Linked DNA regions of Homo sapiens: all the other regions are linked to region 2. The links are contacts of gene promoters, found by promoter capture Hi-C in blood cells and fetal thymus (Javierre and others, 2016). All regions are on one chromosome and are shown on one strand. Each heading gives the region's core, a stretch centred on a gene start or on the middle of the fragment in contact. The rest is flanking DNA. Distances are from core to core; before and after follow the strand shown.

The links. The method cuts DNA at HindIII sites, captures the fragments that hold promoters and counts their contacts. A CHiCAGO score of 5 or more calls a contact.
Region 1: a fragment that was not itself captured here is called in contact with the fragment with the promoter of KHK in region 2 in 1 of 17 cell types (naive B cells); the score reaches 6.1 in naive B cells.
Region 3: a fragment that was not itself captured here is called in contact with the fragment with the promoter of KHK in region 2 in 2 of 17 cell types (neutrophils and naive B cells); the score reaches 6.1 in neutrophils.
Region 4: a fragment that was not itself captured here is called in contact with the fragment with the promoter of KHK in region 2 in 1 of 17 cell types (total B cells); the score reaches 6.6 in total B cells.
Region 5: a contact is called between a fragment that was not itself captured here and the fragment with the promoter of KHK in region 2, in 1 of 17 cell types (total B cells). The highest score is 6.0, in total B cells.

Annotation. Positions count from the first base shown.
Region 1 is chr2:27,585,981-27,588,680 of GRCh38, forward strand. All of the region lies in intron 2 of ZNF512 (zinc finger protein 512), which reads left to right. Among named protein-coding and RNA genes, the nearest start is that of ZNF512, 4.3 kb to the left of the region's middle. The HindIII fragment of the contact is 2,913 bases long and covers 1-2,700 here.
Region 2 is chr2:27,085,469-27,088,168 of GRCh38, forward strand. It overlaps KHK (ketohexokinase), which reads left to right and starts at 1,304. Exons shown (of 8, transcript NM_006488.3): 1 at 1,304-1,883. The coding sequence starts at 1,792. It overlaps EMILIN1 (elastin microfibril interfacer 1), which reads left to right. Exons shown (of 8, transcript NM_007046.4): 8 at 210-935. The coding sequence ends at 547. RefSeq lists enhancers at 288-507, 1,498-1,557 and silencers at 638-797, 848-1,307. The HindIII fragment of the contact is 6,666 bases long and covers 1-2,497 here.
Region 3 is chr2:27,484,154-27,486,853 of GRCh38, forward strand. IFT172 (intraflagellar transport 172) reads right to left here. Exons shown (of 48, transcript NM_015662.3): 2 at 1,207-1,350; 3 at 865-977; 4 at 74-113. Among named protein-coding and RNA genes, the nearest start is that of IFT172, 4.2 kb to the right of the region's middle. The HindIII fragment of the contact is 1,126 bases long and covers 763-1,888 here.
Region 4 is chr2:27,404,733-27,407,432 of GRCh38, forward strand. The region is part of intron 1 of PPM1G (protein phosphatase, Mg2+/Mn2+ dependent 1G); the gene reads right to left. Among named protein-coding and RNA genes, the nearest start is that of PPM1G, 3.5 kb to the right of the region's middle. The HindIII fragment of the contact is 200 bases long and covers 1,328-1,527 here.
Region 5 is chr2:27,349,576-27,352,290 of GRCh38, forward strand. All of the region lies in intron 1 of GTF3C2 (general transcription factor IIIC subunit 2), which reads right to left. Among named protein-coding and RNA genes, the nearest start is that of GTF3C2, 5.8 kb to the right of the region's middle. The HindIII fragment of the contact is 7,047 bases long and covers 1-2,715 here.

The DNA.
Region 1 (2,700 bases), core at 68-2,567, 500 kb after region 2:
AAACATGAGACCTGGAGGAGGGATTCCCTAACCACCTTGATTTAATCTCCAAGAGTTAATTATGATCATATGAACTGTTGCCTTTTCAGTATGCTTATGCTTATTCATAAGAGGGTATATGGGTACTGTATTTCTGAGTCCTACACTGATAGTAAGAAATTCCTACATGGAGAGTTTCCTAAGAGTTATTACATGGGACTCAGCTCTTAATGGCCTGTTGGTACCATCAAGTCTTTGTTGTTGTTGTTGTTGTTGTTGTTGTTGTTGGAGATGGAGTCTTGCTCTGTCGCCTAGGCTGGAGTGCAGTGGCATGATCTCGGCTCACCACAACCTCCACCTCCTGGGTTCAAGCAATTCTCCTGCCTCAGCCTCCCGAGTAGCTGGGATTACAGGTGCACACCGCTGTGCCCTGCTAAGTTTTTGTATTTTAGTAGAGAAGGGGTTTCACAGTGTTGCCCAGGCTGGTCTTGAACTCCTGAGCTCAGGCAGTTCGCCCATCTTGGCCTTCCAAAGTGCTAGGATTACAGGCATGAGCCACTGCGCCTGTCCCATCAAGTGTTTCTAGCATTGTTTGGGATGGTAGGTTTTGGCCTTAGAGGCCTGCCAGTCCATTAATTTTTAAAAATACCTTTATTGAGGTATAATTAGAGTACAATAGACTGCACATATTTAAAGCGTACACTATGGTCAGCTTTGACGTATGTCTGTACCCGTGAAACCATTGCCACAATCAAGATAATAAACATTTTCATCTCTCTCAAAAGTTTGTTCATGTCTCTGCCATTTCTTCCTCCACTCCTGTCCACGGGCACCACTGTACAGTGGTTTGCATATTCTAGGATTTTATATAAATGAAGTCACACAGTATGTTCTCATTTTTTTCATGATTTCTTTCACTCAGAATAATGATTTTGAGATGACAAATAGTTTTTATTGCTGGGTAGAATTCCATTATGGATACCATAATTTGTTTAGCCATCTATCTTGATTGACATTTGAGTTATTTTCAGTTTTAGGGTGTCAAACAATAAGGCTGCTGTGAACGTTCATGTACAAGTCTTGTGTGGACAAATGCTTTCATTTCTTTTGATAAATATCTAAGATGGTATTTACCATCCTAGGTTGGTTGATTCATATGGCAGGAGTATGTTTAGCTTTTTAGGAAACTACCTGCTTTCCAAAGTGGTATTATTTTGCATTCCTACCAGCAATGTATGAGTCAGTCTTTTCAATTTTAGCTAATTTAATGGGTGTGTAGTGGTATCTCACTGTGGTTTTAATTCATGGGTTTTTTTTTTTTTTTTTTCTTTTTTTGAGACAGTGTCTCCCTCTGTCACCCAGGCTGGAGTGCAGTGGCCTGATCCTGGCTCACCGAACCCTTTGCCTCCCAGGTTTAACTGATTCTTCTGCCTTAGCCTCCTGAGTAGCTGGGATTACCGGTGTGCATCACCACGCCTGACTAATTTTGGTATTTTTAGTAGAGATGGGATTTCACCATGTTGGCCAGGCTGGTCTCGAACTCCTGACCTTAAGTGTTCTGCCCACCTTGGCCTCCCAAAGTGCTGGGATTACATGCTTGAGCCACCACACCTGGCCTAATTTGTGGTTTTTAATTCATCATATATGAATAATAATGTTGAGCATCTGTTCGTATTCTTTCTTTTTTTGATCTTTTTTTTTTTGCATCTGTTCATATTCTTTTTTATTTTATTTTTTTTGAGACAGAGTTTCACTCTTGTTGCCCAGGCTGGAGTGCAATGGTGCAATCTCGGCTCACTGCAACCTCCGCCTCCCAGATTCAAGCTATTCTTCTGCTCACCCTCCGGAGTAGCTGGGATTACAGGCATGTGCCGCCACGCCTGGCTAATTTTATATTTTTAGTAGAGACGGGGTTTCTCCATGTTGGTCAGGCTGGTCTCGAACTCCCAACCTCAGGTGATCTGCCCACCTTTGCCTCCCAAAGTGCTGGGATTAACGGTGTGAGCCACCGCGCCCAGCCTTCATCTGTTCCTATTCTTATTGGCCATTTGTGTGTCTACTTTTGTAAAATGTTTACATTTTTGTCCATTAAAAAAAGTGGGTTATCTTATTGAATTGTGGTATTTAAAAAAATCTGTCCTGAATACAACTCGTTTGTCTGTTATACTTCCTTCCAGTCTGGTTTGTCTTTCATTTTCTTAATGATGTCTTTTGAAGAGCAAAAGGTTTAAATTTATCATTTTTTTCTTACATTTCATGCTTTTATGTATCCTATTTAAGAAACCTTTGCCTCCCTGGAGGTCGTAGCGAGTCAAGGTGGTGCCACTGCACTCCAGCCTGGGCGACAGAGCGAGATTCCGTCTTAAGAAATAATAATAATTAAAAAAAAGAAACTTTTGCCTCCCTAATTGCAGAGATTTTCTGTGGTCTTTTCTCCTAGAAGTTTTATAGGTTTTATATTTAGGTCTGTGACTCATTTAGAGTTAATTTCTGTGAATGTTTTATGGTAAGGGTCAATGTTGACTTTTTTTTCTATTTATATACCCAGTTGTTGGAAAGAGTTTTCTTTCCCTACTGAATTGCCTTGGCATCTTTGTCAAACTTCACTTGGACATGTATATGTGTAGGTCTGTTTCTGGACTCTCCTTATTCTGTTCTACTGATGTTTATTTAGACTCTTGAAATCAGTAAGTCCTCTAACTTTAGTGTTCTTTTTCAAAA
Region 2 (2,700 bases), core at 54-2,553:
TTCATTCATTCAGCAGATCTTTACTGGGGCCTGCTCCTGCCCAGGCACTGTTTTAAGTGCTGGGAATGCATAGTGAACAAAGCCCCCAGTTCCCTGCCGCTCACATTCCAGTGAGGTGAAAAGACCCAGAGGGTCCCTCCTCAGTCCAGGAGTTCTGGTGCGCTCCCCGGAGCTTCCCTGGCCCCCCTGACTGCTATCCTTGTCCCCAGGCGTGTTCACAGCGCCACTGGCTGGACGCTACTTGCTGAGCGCGGTGCTGACTGGGCACCGGCACGAGAAAGTGGAGGCCGTGCTGTCCCGCTCCAACCAGGGCGTGGCCCGCGTAGACTCCGGTGGCTACGAGCCTGAGGGCCTGGAGAATAAGCCGGTGGCCGAGAGCCAGCCCAGCCCGGGCACCCTGGGCGTCTTCAGCCTCATCCTGCCGCTGCAGGCCGGGGACACGGTCTGCGTCGACCTGGTCATGGGGCAGCTGGCGCACTCGGAGGAGCCGCTCACCATCTTCAGCGGGGCCCTGCTCTATGGGGACCCAGAGCTTGAACACGCGTAGACTGGGGTCCCGCCCGACGTGTCTACGTCGGCTGAAGAGACAGCGGGGGCGGCGGGCTCCTGGGGTCTCGCCTGAGACGGGGCACCTAGCCCTGGGCGAGCGCCGCACCCGGGCCCGCAGCGGCACCGCGCCCAGAGCGGCCTCTCCCCACGCCCGGGGCGCGCCGGCTCAGGGAGGCTCGGGGCCGCCCATGCAGACTTTTGGCCTGGCGCGATCCCCCAAGAACCCCTCCAGGGCCGGCCTGCGGAGGAGCCGATCCTCGCACCCTCCGCTCCCTCCACTGGCCCTCCAGGTCGATTCCCTGGGCTCCAGGCTCCCCCGCGCGGGCGCCGCCCACCGCCATACTAAACGATCGAGGAATAAAGACACTTGGTTTTTCTAAAAAAAACTAAACGAACCGTTCTGCTACGGTACGGGGTCGGGGGCTGCCGGGCGTGCACAGGGCACGGGGCGGGAGAGACGACGGCCTCCGGAGAGGACCCCGGGTTCCGCACTGCGTTCGCCGCCTCCGCCCGGCTCGGGGCGGCTCGGGGTTGGCTCAGGCAGCAAGCGGCGCCCGCCCGGCTCCTGCGACGTCTCCCCCGTGTCACGCCCGTTTCGCCGGCGTCCGCCAGGGGGCGCTCTGCGTTCCCGCCACGTGAGGCTGCGGCCCACCCGGCGGGTCCTGCTCCTCCGCGGCGGAGGCGTGGCCTCGGCTGGGACTAACCGGGGCGGGGCGGGGCGGGGCGGGGCGGGGCCGCCGCGACCGCGGGCTTCAGGCAGGGCTGCAGATGCGAGGCCCAGCTGTACCTCGCGTGTCCCGGGTCGGGAGTCGGAGACGCAGGTGCAGGAGAGTGCGGGGCAAGTAGCGCATTTTCTCTTTGCATTCTCGAGATCGCTTAGCCGCGCTTTAAAAAGGTTTGCATCAGCTGTGAGTCCATCTGACAAGCGAGGAAACTAAGGCTGAGAAGTGGGAGGCGTTGCCATCTGCAGGCCCAGGCAACCTGCTACGGGAAGACCGGGGACCAAGACCTCTGGGTTGGCTTTCCTAGACCCGCTCGGGTCTTCGGGTGTCGCGAGGAAGGGCCCTGCTCCTTTCGTTCCCTGCACCCCTGGCCGCTGCAGGTGGCTCCCTGGAGGAGGAGCTCCCACGCGGAGGAGGAGCCAGGGCAGCTGGGAGCGGGGACACCATCCTCCTGGATAAGAGGCAGAGGCCGGGAGGAACCCCGTCAGCCGGGCGGGCAGGAAGCTCTGGGAGTAGCCTCATGGAAGAGAAGCAGATCCTGTGCGTGGGGCTAGTGGTGCTGGACGTCATCAGCCTGGTGGACAAGTACCCTAAGGAGGACTCGGAGATAAGGTAGGGGCGCCCAGGTCCCCTAGGGGACCCCAGGGGCTGCTGCAGTCCAGCATTTGTGCCAGCGACCGAGGCTGCAGAGACCCCGCAGTGAGGCCCTGAGAACCCGGCTTCAAGGCCGGACCCGCGCCCTCTACCCGGGAATCCTGGGGGGGCTCCCAGCATGACAGAAGAGAGGAAGGAATTGAGGCCTTTAATAAGAAGACCCAGGATTTAATAGCATCGTGTTAGCCAATTTCCATTTCAACTCAGGCATCAGGTGTCAGGTGTCAGGCATCAGGATCCCCATTTTACTGATAAGTATAGATTCAGAGACCAAGGGGCTTATCCAGGGGCACACAGCTACCTGCTTCTGCTGTTTCTTTTTAAACCCCAAGCCTATGCACTTGCCTCTCATCAACATTTACTTCTAACTTATTTATCCACATATCTCGCACCTATTTCTGAGAAAGATTTGAGGTAGCTTACAGTAAAAAGTATGTACAGTTAAACTGTTGGAGAACATTTAAGACCATGGTATTTGAGCTTCAACTATAGCTCAGGGCTTGCTGGCACTGGAGGCAAACATGAGATGCCATGGGTTATGTATGGATAGAGCTGGTTCATGAGCCCTGGCAAGCTTTTTCCTGGTGCTAAATTCCAAGAGGAGTTTACCAGAAGTCCTTTTCACAGAGGTCAATGAACACCGTTTAGTAGTGGGAAATATCTTTCTCAGTTGTCTGCTAGAAACTGAAGAGTCAGTTGTTGGTTCTTTTTTTTTTTTTTTTTTTTTTTTTTTGAGACAGGGTCTCATTCTGTCGTCCAGGCTGGAGTGCAGTGG
Region 3 (2,700 bases), core at 76-2,575, 400 kb after region 2:
GCTGTATTTATAAGTAGATATACTGATATATGTTTGTTCATCCTAAGGTTCCAGGGACTGGTCTGAACTTTACCGTCTGGATGAACTTGTTGCAGATGACTTTCTTGTCACCCCTGCCAAACAAAAGAAGGGGAAACATATTAAAAACCACTTCCAGGCCGGGCGTGGTGGCTCATGCCTGTAATCCCAGCACTTTGGGAGGCCGAGGCGGGAGGATCATGAGGTCAGGAGATCGAGACCATCCTGGCTAACACAGTGAAACCCCGTCTCTACTAAAAATACAAAAAATTAGCCGGGTGTGGTGGTGGGCGCCTGTAGTCCCAGCTACTCGGGAGGCTGAGGCAGGAGAATTGCGTGAACCTGGGAGGAGGAGCTTGCAGTGAGCCACAATCGCGCCACTGCACTCCAGCCTGGGTGACAGAGTGAGACTCTATCTCAAAATAAATAAATAAATAAATACCACTTCCATAAACAAATTGCCAAAAATGATGCTGAGGGAAGAGAAGAAAGAGCAGATTTCTTCCCTGGCCCAGTAGTATTTCTGACTACTCTGTAGGAGCCCTGAAAGGAGGTATATGAGGGAGCCTAAGCAGCTTCAGAACAATAACAAAGATGTGACATCACTCTGGGCTTCCAGGATCTCACAGGGCCTCCTGTTGACCTTGGACTGTTTCCTCCAGGGATGGGATTGAAGAACACGTGGGACAGGTGAAGGCAGAAAAGCAAAAACAGACTCCAGAAAGTCTCTGCCTTCAATGGCCAAGCTTGGCTTCTCATCCCCTGTATTTCCCCTCCCCAGTGAGGCATTTCTCTTGCCTTCCCCTTCTTTCCTGGGCCATCCCATCTCCCAGTCTCTATCCTCACCAATCTTCTCCAATCTTGTAGACATAGATGATGTTGTCAGTCTGTCCTATGGCAATTTTAGTGGAATCAGGAGAAAAAGCCATGCCCTTCACCATATAGCTCTTCCTGCCATACTAAGAGTTTAAAAAAAAAAAAAGAAAGAAAAAGAAGTAATGAGTACACATGAAAGAGAAAAGAGAAAAAAAGGCATATGTGTGCTCCTAAGGGAGCTTGAGGATTTATACTGAGAAAAAGGTGGGGTATGCCATTTCCTATGCTGATGGCTAGAAGGCAGACTACGTCTTTCAAGTTGTGAGACCCCATCAATAGGTTAAATAAGGTACACATGAATACACTGTTTACCTTCATGTCAGCTGGTTTGGTGGAGAATTTATCTCTCCGTTCTCCATGTTCATCATACAGCAAGACCACTCGGTCCACTGTGCAGACAGCAAATTTGGCATTGTTCTGGGACCAAGCCATGCAGGTCACCTTTGCAGCTCCATCCTGTAGAGGCAAAGGGGTAAAAACAAACCCATGTGCTGGTCTAGAATGCCAAAAGCATTTCTAGCTTCATTAATTCTAGTGTAATACTGGTCAATTTTCTTCCTGTCACGGTTCTATCCTCAAAACAAAGAGATGCCTGTGGCCCATGCTGGTCTCCAAGGCCTTCAGATCCTGGACTGTGAGAACAACAGGCTTCTAGAGACTCATATGCAAATGCACTAAGAGGCAGGGTGCTAAGTCAACTGTATCAATGAATCCCTGCAACGGCCTCCTCGTTTCCAGGTCTGCTACTGAAATAAATTCAATTAGTCTGGTAAGTTTTGGTCATTAGCCATTCATTCAATTAATATTTTTTTAGCACCTTATTGATCAAGGCACTTGGCCAGGGGCTGAGAGAGAGACAAAAAGCAAACCATAGATCCTGCCTCCACGTCTAATAAGATGGTGCAAAATAGAAAAGTCCTATTAAAGTATGTATAAAGTACTACAATAGTTTGGAGAAGCCTGAGAGAATTTTATGCTTAAATTATCAAAATTAAGCTTTGAAGAATGAATGCAGTTGAGTAGGAAGTTATCTGAGATGGGAGGAATGGCAATGAGCAAAGGCAAATTCTGGACAAGAAACAGTAATTTAGTTTATTTGAAACTATTATACCTTATAAATAGTAGAATAGACGGGGTAAGGCAGGAAAAACAGGCCAGCTCAGGAAGTCTTTGAAGCCAGGCAAAGGAGTTTGGGCTTATTTGAAAGGAAAGGGAGAGACAGTGAGAGTTCAGGATGGGCGAGTACGAGTTGAGACTCAGGACGAATAATCCCACTTTCTTTTCTTCTTAACTACCCACTTCAGAGAAACCCAAGTTAGAAGTTATCTCCAGGTGAATTATTCTGACCAGATCTGACCCTTCCAACACTAGCTCTGGTCCTAAGGGACTAGCTCTGCTACTAAGGGTTTCCTTCCTTGAAAACAAAACATTTTATTCTGCTTTTCTTCTGCCCCAATTGTTTAATTATTTGGACACTAGAGTTCTGGCTTCAAACATTGACACTTTACACTCCAAACTCACCTATCTCCAAAGTCAGAAGTAAAAAGTCTATTTTCCTGCAAATCCTCAAACCAGAAAATAGCCACACCACCATCACTATGATCCTCTAACTCTTCATTATATTAGGTTAGAAGGCCTGAGGGCTCCTCATCAATCTTTGCTGATCCTCCTGCTTTATCGCTTTGCCCAATTCTGGGCATTCAGCCCTACCTGCATCATGACATCATCTTATTTTGAGAGACTGAAGGAGGATTTCATTTCCAATTTTTCCATTAGGGCGGAGAAATTTTTAAAGTACAGATTCAA
Region 4 (2,700 bases), core at 178-2,677, 320 kb after region 2:
AGGAGTTGGAGACCAACCCGGCCAACATAGTGAAACCCTGTCTCTATTGAAAATACAAAAAATTAGCCGGGCATGGTGGCAGGCGCCTGTAATCCCAGCTACTCGGGAAGCTGAGGCAGGAGAATCGCTTGAACTCAGGAGGCAGAGGTTGCAGTGAGCCAAGATCATGCCATTATACTCCAGCCTGGGCAACAGTGCAAGACTCCGTCTCGGAGAAAAAAAAAAAAAAAAAAGACTACATCAACTGAATCTATTTTCAGATTTGACTTCTTATTTAGCCAACAAAAACTCAAGGGCCTTACCTTATAATTTTTCAGGCACCCCTCCACAACCTACCTCATTTTTTTTTTTTTTTTTTTAAGATGGAGTCTCACCCTGTCGCCCAGGCTGGAGTGCAGTGGTGCGATCTCGGCTCACTGCAACCTCCGCCTCCCAGGTTCAAGCGATTCTCCTGCCTCAGCCTCCGGAGTAGCTGGGACTACAGGCGTGCGCCACCATGCCCAGCTAATTCTTGTATTTTAGAAGAGACAGGGTTTCACCATATTGGCCAGAATGATCTCGGTCTCTTGATCTCGTGATCCGCCCACCTCGGCCTCCCAAAGTGCTGGGATTACAGGCATGAGCCACCGTGCCCAGTGCCTACCTCTTAATCCCAAAGTACATACCTCATCCACTTTTTTCATGGAGAAAGGAGGAAGGAGGAGAACATCAACTGTGGTGGTTTTTTTGTTTGTTTTTTTGAGACGGAGTCTGTCACCCTGGCTAGAGTGCAGCGGTGAGATCTCGGCTCACTGGCCTTCCTATTCAAGCAATTCTCTGGCCTCTGGCTAATTTTTGTATTTTCAGTAGAGACGGGGTTTCACCATGTTGACTAGGCTGGTCTCGAACTGACCTCAGGTGATCTGCCCCCCTCGGCCTCCCAAACTGCTGGGATTACAGGCGTTAAGCCACCACGACTGGCCTGTGGTATTTTGATTACCTTTTCTCAAAACACCCTGGTTGCTGGGCATGGTGGCTCACAGCATTTTGGGAGGCAGAGGCGGGCCGATCACCTGAGGTCAGAAGTTCGAGACCAGCCTGACCAACATGGAGAGACCCCCATCTCTACTAAAAATACAAAATTAGCCAGGCGTGGTGGCACATGCCTGTAATCCCAGCTACTCAGGAGGCTGAGGCAGGAGAATCGCTTGAACCCGGGAGGCGGAGGTTGCAGTGAGCCGAGATCATGCCATTGTACTCCAGCCTGGGCAACAAGATAGAAACTCCGTCTCAAAAACAAAACAAAACAAAACAAACAACAACAACACCCTGGTCACACAGGAAGAGAAGCTTGAAACAGGCAGAAAGTAAAAATGCCAGCTATTGATGATTGCCATTTTTGTCTCAAGAGTCCTCTCTACGGCTAAATCTATCCATCAGTCAGCATGTCAACAACCTTTAGTGGTATGATAACCTTACCTCAAATGAAGCATTAGGACCAAGCAAATAGGGTAAATAAACTTTATTAATTTTTGGATTAAGCCCTAAAGCTTCAGAGGAATGGGAGTACTTTATATTTTCTGGAAAGATAAGATTCAGGGAAGAGGCTAGAACTCATAGTTATTTTCTTGCAATAGCAAAGAAACTATGCTACACTTTGAAGAGAAAAAAAGCCAGAAGGAACACTATCAATGAAGCAGAATAGGATCCCAAACAATACTCTTCAAGAGGATTTGATTAGGCATATTTAACTATTGATTAGGCATATTTATTCAAACAAGGGCAACTTCAGAAACAGCACATTAGCAAGATTTTAATACCCTAAGCAGTTATCTCTCAGGAGGAAGATTAGGATGTAAGGAATAGTCTAGTAAGATCTCTACACACTAAACCGTCCCTGACAAAAAAAATCATTTTCTAATTGAGGAGAAACCAAAAATAAAGGGAAATGCCCTACAGAGAAGCAGCAAATAGTATGGAATCACTGGGCAAACCAACGTGAAACACTGAGTAGCCAAGCAACTCAATCCGTAAGTAAAAGTAGAAAGAAGGGTACCAAAGAAATGAAAAAACAACAGCAGAGAAGTGAAAAATATTAAATGAGAAACCTGGAAGAAACGTTTTACTGCGAGATGGAATATTCACCTCAAATCTCACAACGTTAACAGAAAATGCCATGGAAATGGAACTTCTTGACTACCTACTTTACAAAAAGACTTTCCTACGAAACTATACCCAGATTTATTTATTTATTCTTTTTTTTTTTTTTTTTGAGACAGTGTCTCACTCTGTCGCCCAGGCTGGAGTACAGTGGCACGATCTTGGCTCACTGCAACCTCCGCCTCTGGGATTCAAGCGATTCTCCTGCCTCAGCCTTCCAAGTAGCTATGATTATAGGCACGCACCACCACATTCAGCTAATTTTTTGTATTTTAATAAAGACGGGGTTTCTTCATGTTGTCCAGGCTGGTCTCGAACTCCTAAGCTCAGGCAATCCGCCCGCCGCAGCCTCCCAAAGTGTTAGGATTACAGGCATGAGCCACCATGCCTGGCCTATTCATTTATTTTTTGAGACAGCGTCTCGCTCTGTCACCCAGATTGGAGTGCAGAGGGGCGATCTTGGCTCAATGAAGGCTCTGCCTCTCAGGCTCAAAGTGATTTTCTATCTCAGCCTCCCAAGTAACTGGGACTACAGGTGGGTGCCACCATGCCCAGCTAATT
Region 5 (2,715 bases), core at 27-2,526, 260 kb after region 2:
GGAGTTTTGATGACAATAGTAAAGTCGAATTTAGGGGGAAAACATTAAATAGGAATAAAGGGAGTACTATTTTTTTTTTTTGAGACGGAGCCTCTCTCTGTTGCCCAGGCTGGAATGCAGTGGCGTGATCTCGGCTCACTGCAACCTCTGCCTCCTGGGTTCAAGCAACTCTCCTGCCTCAGCCTCCCGAGTAGCTGGGATTACAGGCATGTGCCACCATGCCTGGCTAACTTTTGTATTTTTTAGTAGAGACGGGGTCTGGCTGTGTTGGCCAGGCTGGCCTTGAACTCCTGACCTCAAATGATCCCCCTGCCTCAGTTTCCCAAAGTGCTGGGATTACAAGCATGAGCCACTGTGCCCAGCCCAAAAGGGAGTAGTTTATAATGAATAAAACTTCAAATCATATAAAAGATATAAATGTCAGGAACATTTAAACATCAAATAACAGCATCAAAAGATACAAAGCAAAATGTTCATGACACAGAACAATAACTTCTTTTAATCAATGACAAAGTAGATAAGAACAATGAAGATATAAATAAAATAAATATTCCCCCCATATTGGCTCAGTTGCATAGAACAGAATCCTCTCCAATCAGTTCAAGCAGAAAGGAATTCACTACACGGTATTAAACAGTTCATATCAGAGGTTCACAAAGTGTGGCCCCAGAAACTGCAGCATCAGTATCACCTGCAAATTTGTTAAAATGCAAATTCCTAGTTCTACCCCAGACCTACCGAATCAGCAATTCTGGATGGGGCCAGCACCTTGTGTTTTAACAAGCTCTTCAGGGGATTCTGACGCACACTCAAGCTGAAAAACACTTGCATAAATAAATGATCACGATGAGGGTTGAGGGAAAAACAGTTGGTAGGAACAAGTGCTTATCAAACTGGGAAGGTGCTCTTATTTACAGCTGCTGGCTCAAGAATCATGTGCTGGGCTGGGCGCAGTGGCTCATGCCTGTAATCTCAACACTTTGGGAGGCCAAGGTGGGAGGATCGCTTGAGGCCAGGAGTTCAAGATCAGCCTGGGCAACACAGCAAGACTTTGTCTCTGCAAAAAAATTTTTTTTGAAAATTAGCTGAGGCTGGGTGCGGTGGCTCATGCCTGTAATCCCAGCACTCTGGGAGGCTGAGGCAGGTGGATCACCTAAGGTCAGGAGTTCCCGACCAGCCTGGCCAAAAGCGATGAAACCCCGTCTCTACTAAAAAATACAAAAATTAGCCAGGCGTGGTGGAATATGCCTGTAATCCCAGCTACTCGGGAGGCTGAGGCAGGAGAATCGCTTGAATACAGGAGGCAGAGTTTGCAGTGAGCCGAGACTGCACCACTGCACTCTAGTCTGGGCGACACAGCAAGACTCCATCTCAAAAAAAAAAAAAAAAAATTAGCTGAGTGTAGTGGCATGCAACTGCAGTCTTAGCTACTTGGGAGACTGAGGTGGGAGGATCACTTATGCCCAGGAGTTGAAGACTGCAGTGAGCTATGATTGTGGCACTGCATTCCATCCTCACAGAGCAAGACCCTGTATCTAAAAATAAAAAATAGCAGGCCGGGCATGGTGGCTCACGCCTGTAATCCTAGCACTCTGGGAGGCTGAAGAGGGCGGATCACCTAAGGTCAGGAGTTTGAGACCAGCTTGGCTAACATGGTGAAACCTCGTCTCTACTAAAAACACAAAAATTAGCTGGGCGTGGTGCCACGTGCACTTGTAGTCCCAGCTACTCAGGAGGCTGAGGCAGGAGAATCGCTGGAACCTGGAAGGTGGAGGCTGCAGTGAGCTGAGATCGCGCCACTGCACTCCAGCCTGGGTGACAGAGTGAGACTCCATCTCAAAAATATAAAATAAAATAATAACAAAACATATGCTATGATGGGAAACCACCTGCTGAATCAACAAGCCCCTACCACAGCCAATGGCTCCATAAACAAGTTGTGTCTGCAGTAATCAGAAAGTGACCTAACTAAATAGGAGAGCCGCTTCTCTAGCTCCTGATCCAGAACCTCATCACTGCCAAAATCTGCACCAGCAAATACATGCCTCCTAGTCTGCCTTTCTCCTCTCTAAAATCAGATTCAAATTTAAGTTCTCCAGGAGCATATTTGATTTGTAAAACCTAAATCATATTCAGAATCTTGGATGCAAAAAATTCCAGACAATGAAATTTCTCACTTTCCAGGCTCTCAAGTGGAAGTTGCTCATTCACTCACATCCCACCTACCTCAGGGTTCAAAGTGGGATCAGTCCCTTCAATTCCTCTGCAATGCCACTTGCAGACCAACAGTCCCACACGCCCCCCATCTTGTAAAAATCTTGTTCCTTTGATGCTTAGAACATTCAGCTAAACCGCAGCTACTCACTTTGCTGTCATTCTCTGAACCTTGTCATCACCCAAACCTCTTAACCTCCAAAATCACTAAGACATCTAACTATCTGATCTCCCATCATTACAGCTAGACTGCTTACCCACTATCACTTTTATTCTCCAGCTGTATCAAGCCACTATCCCTTGATCTCTCCAATTTCTCTGTATGTCAGCCACATCCTATCTAGTTTAGATTCCTTCATTTCAATCAGATTCTCGCTGATATTCATCTTCTTGTTCCACATGCTTAGCAAAACTCAAGCCCTGTTAAGTTCAACCATCCAACTCTTTTATGTGTGAATCTAAGTTGCTGAGCACTGGCAATCCCACTTTCTCTCTAGTCAG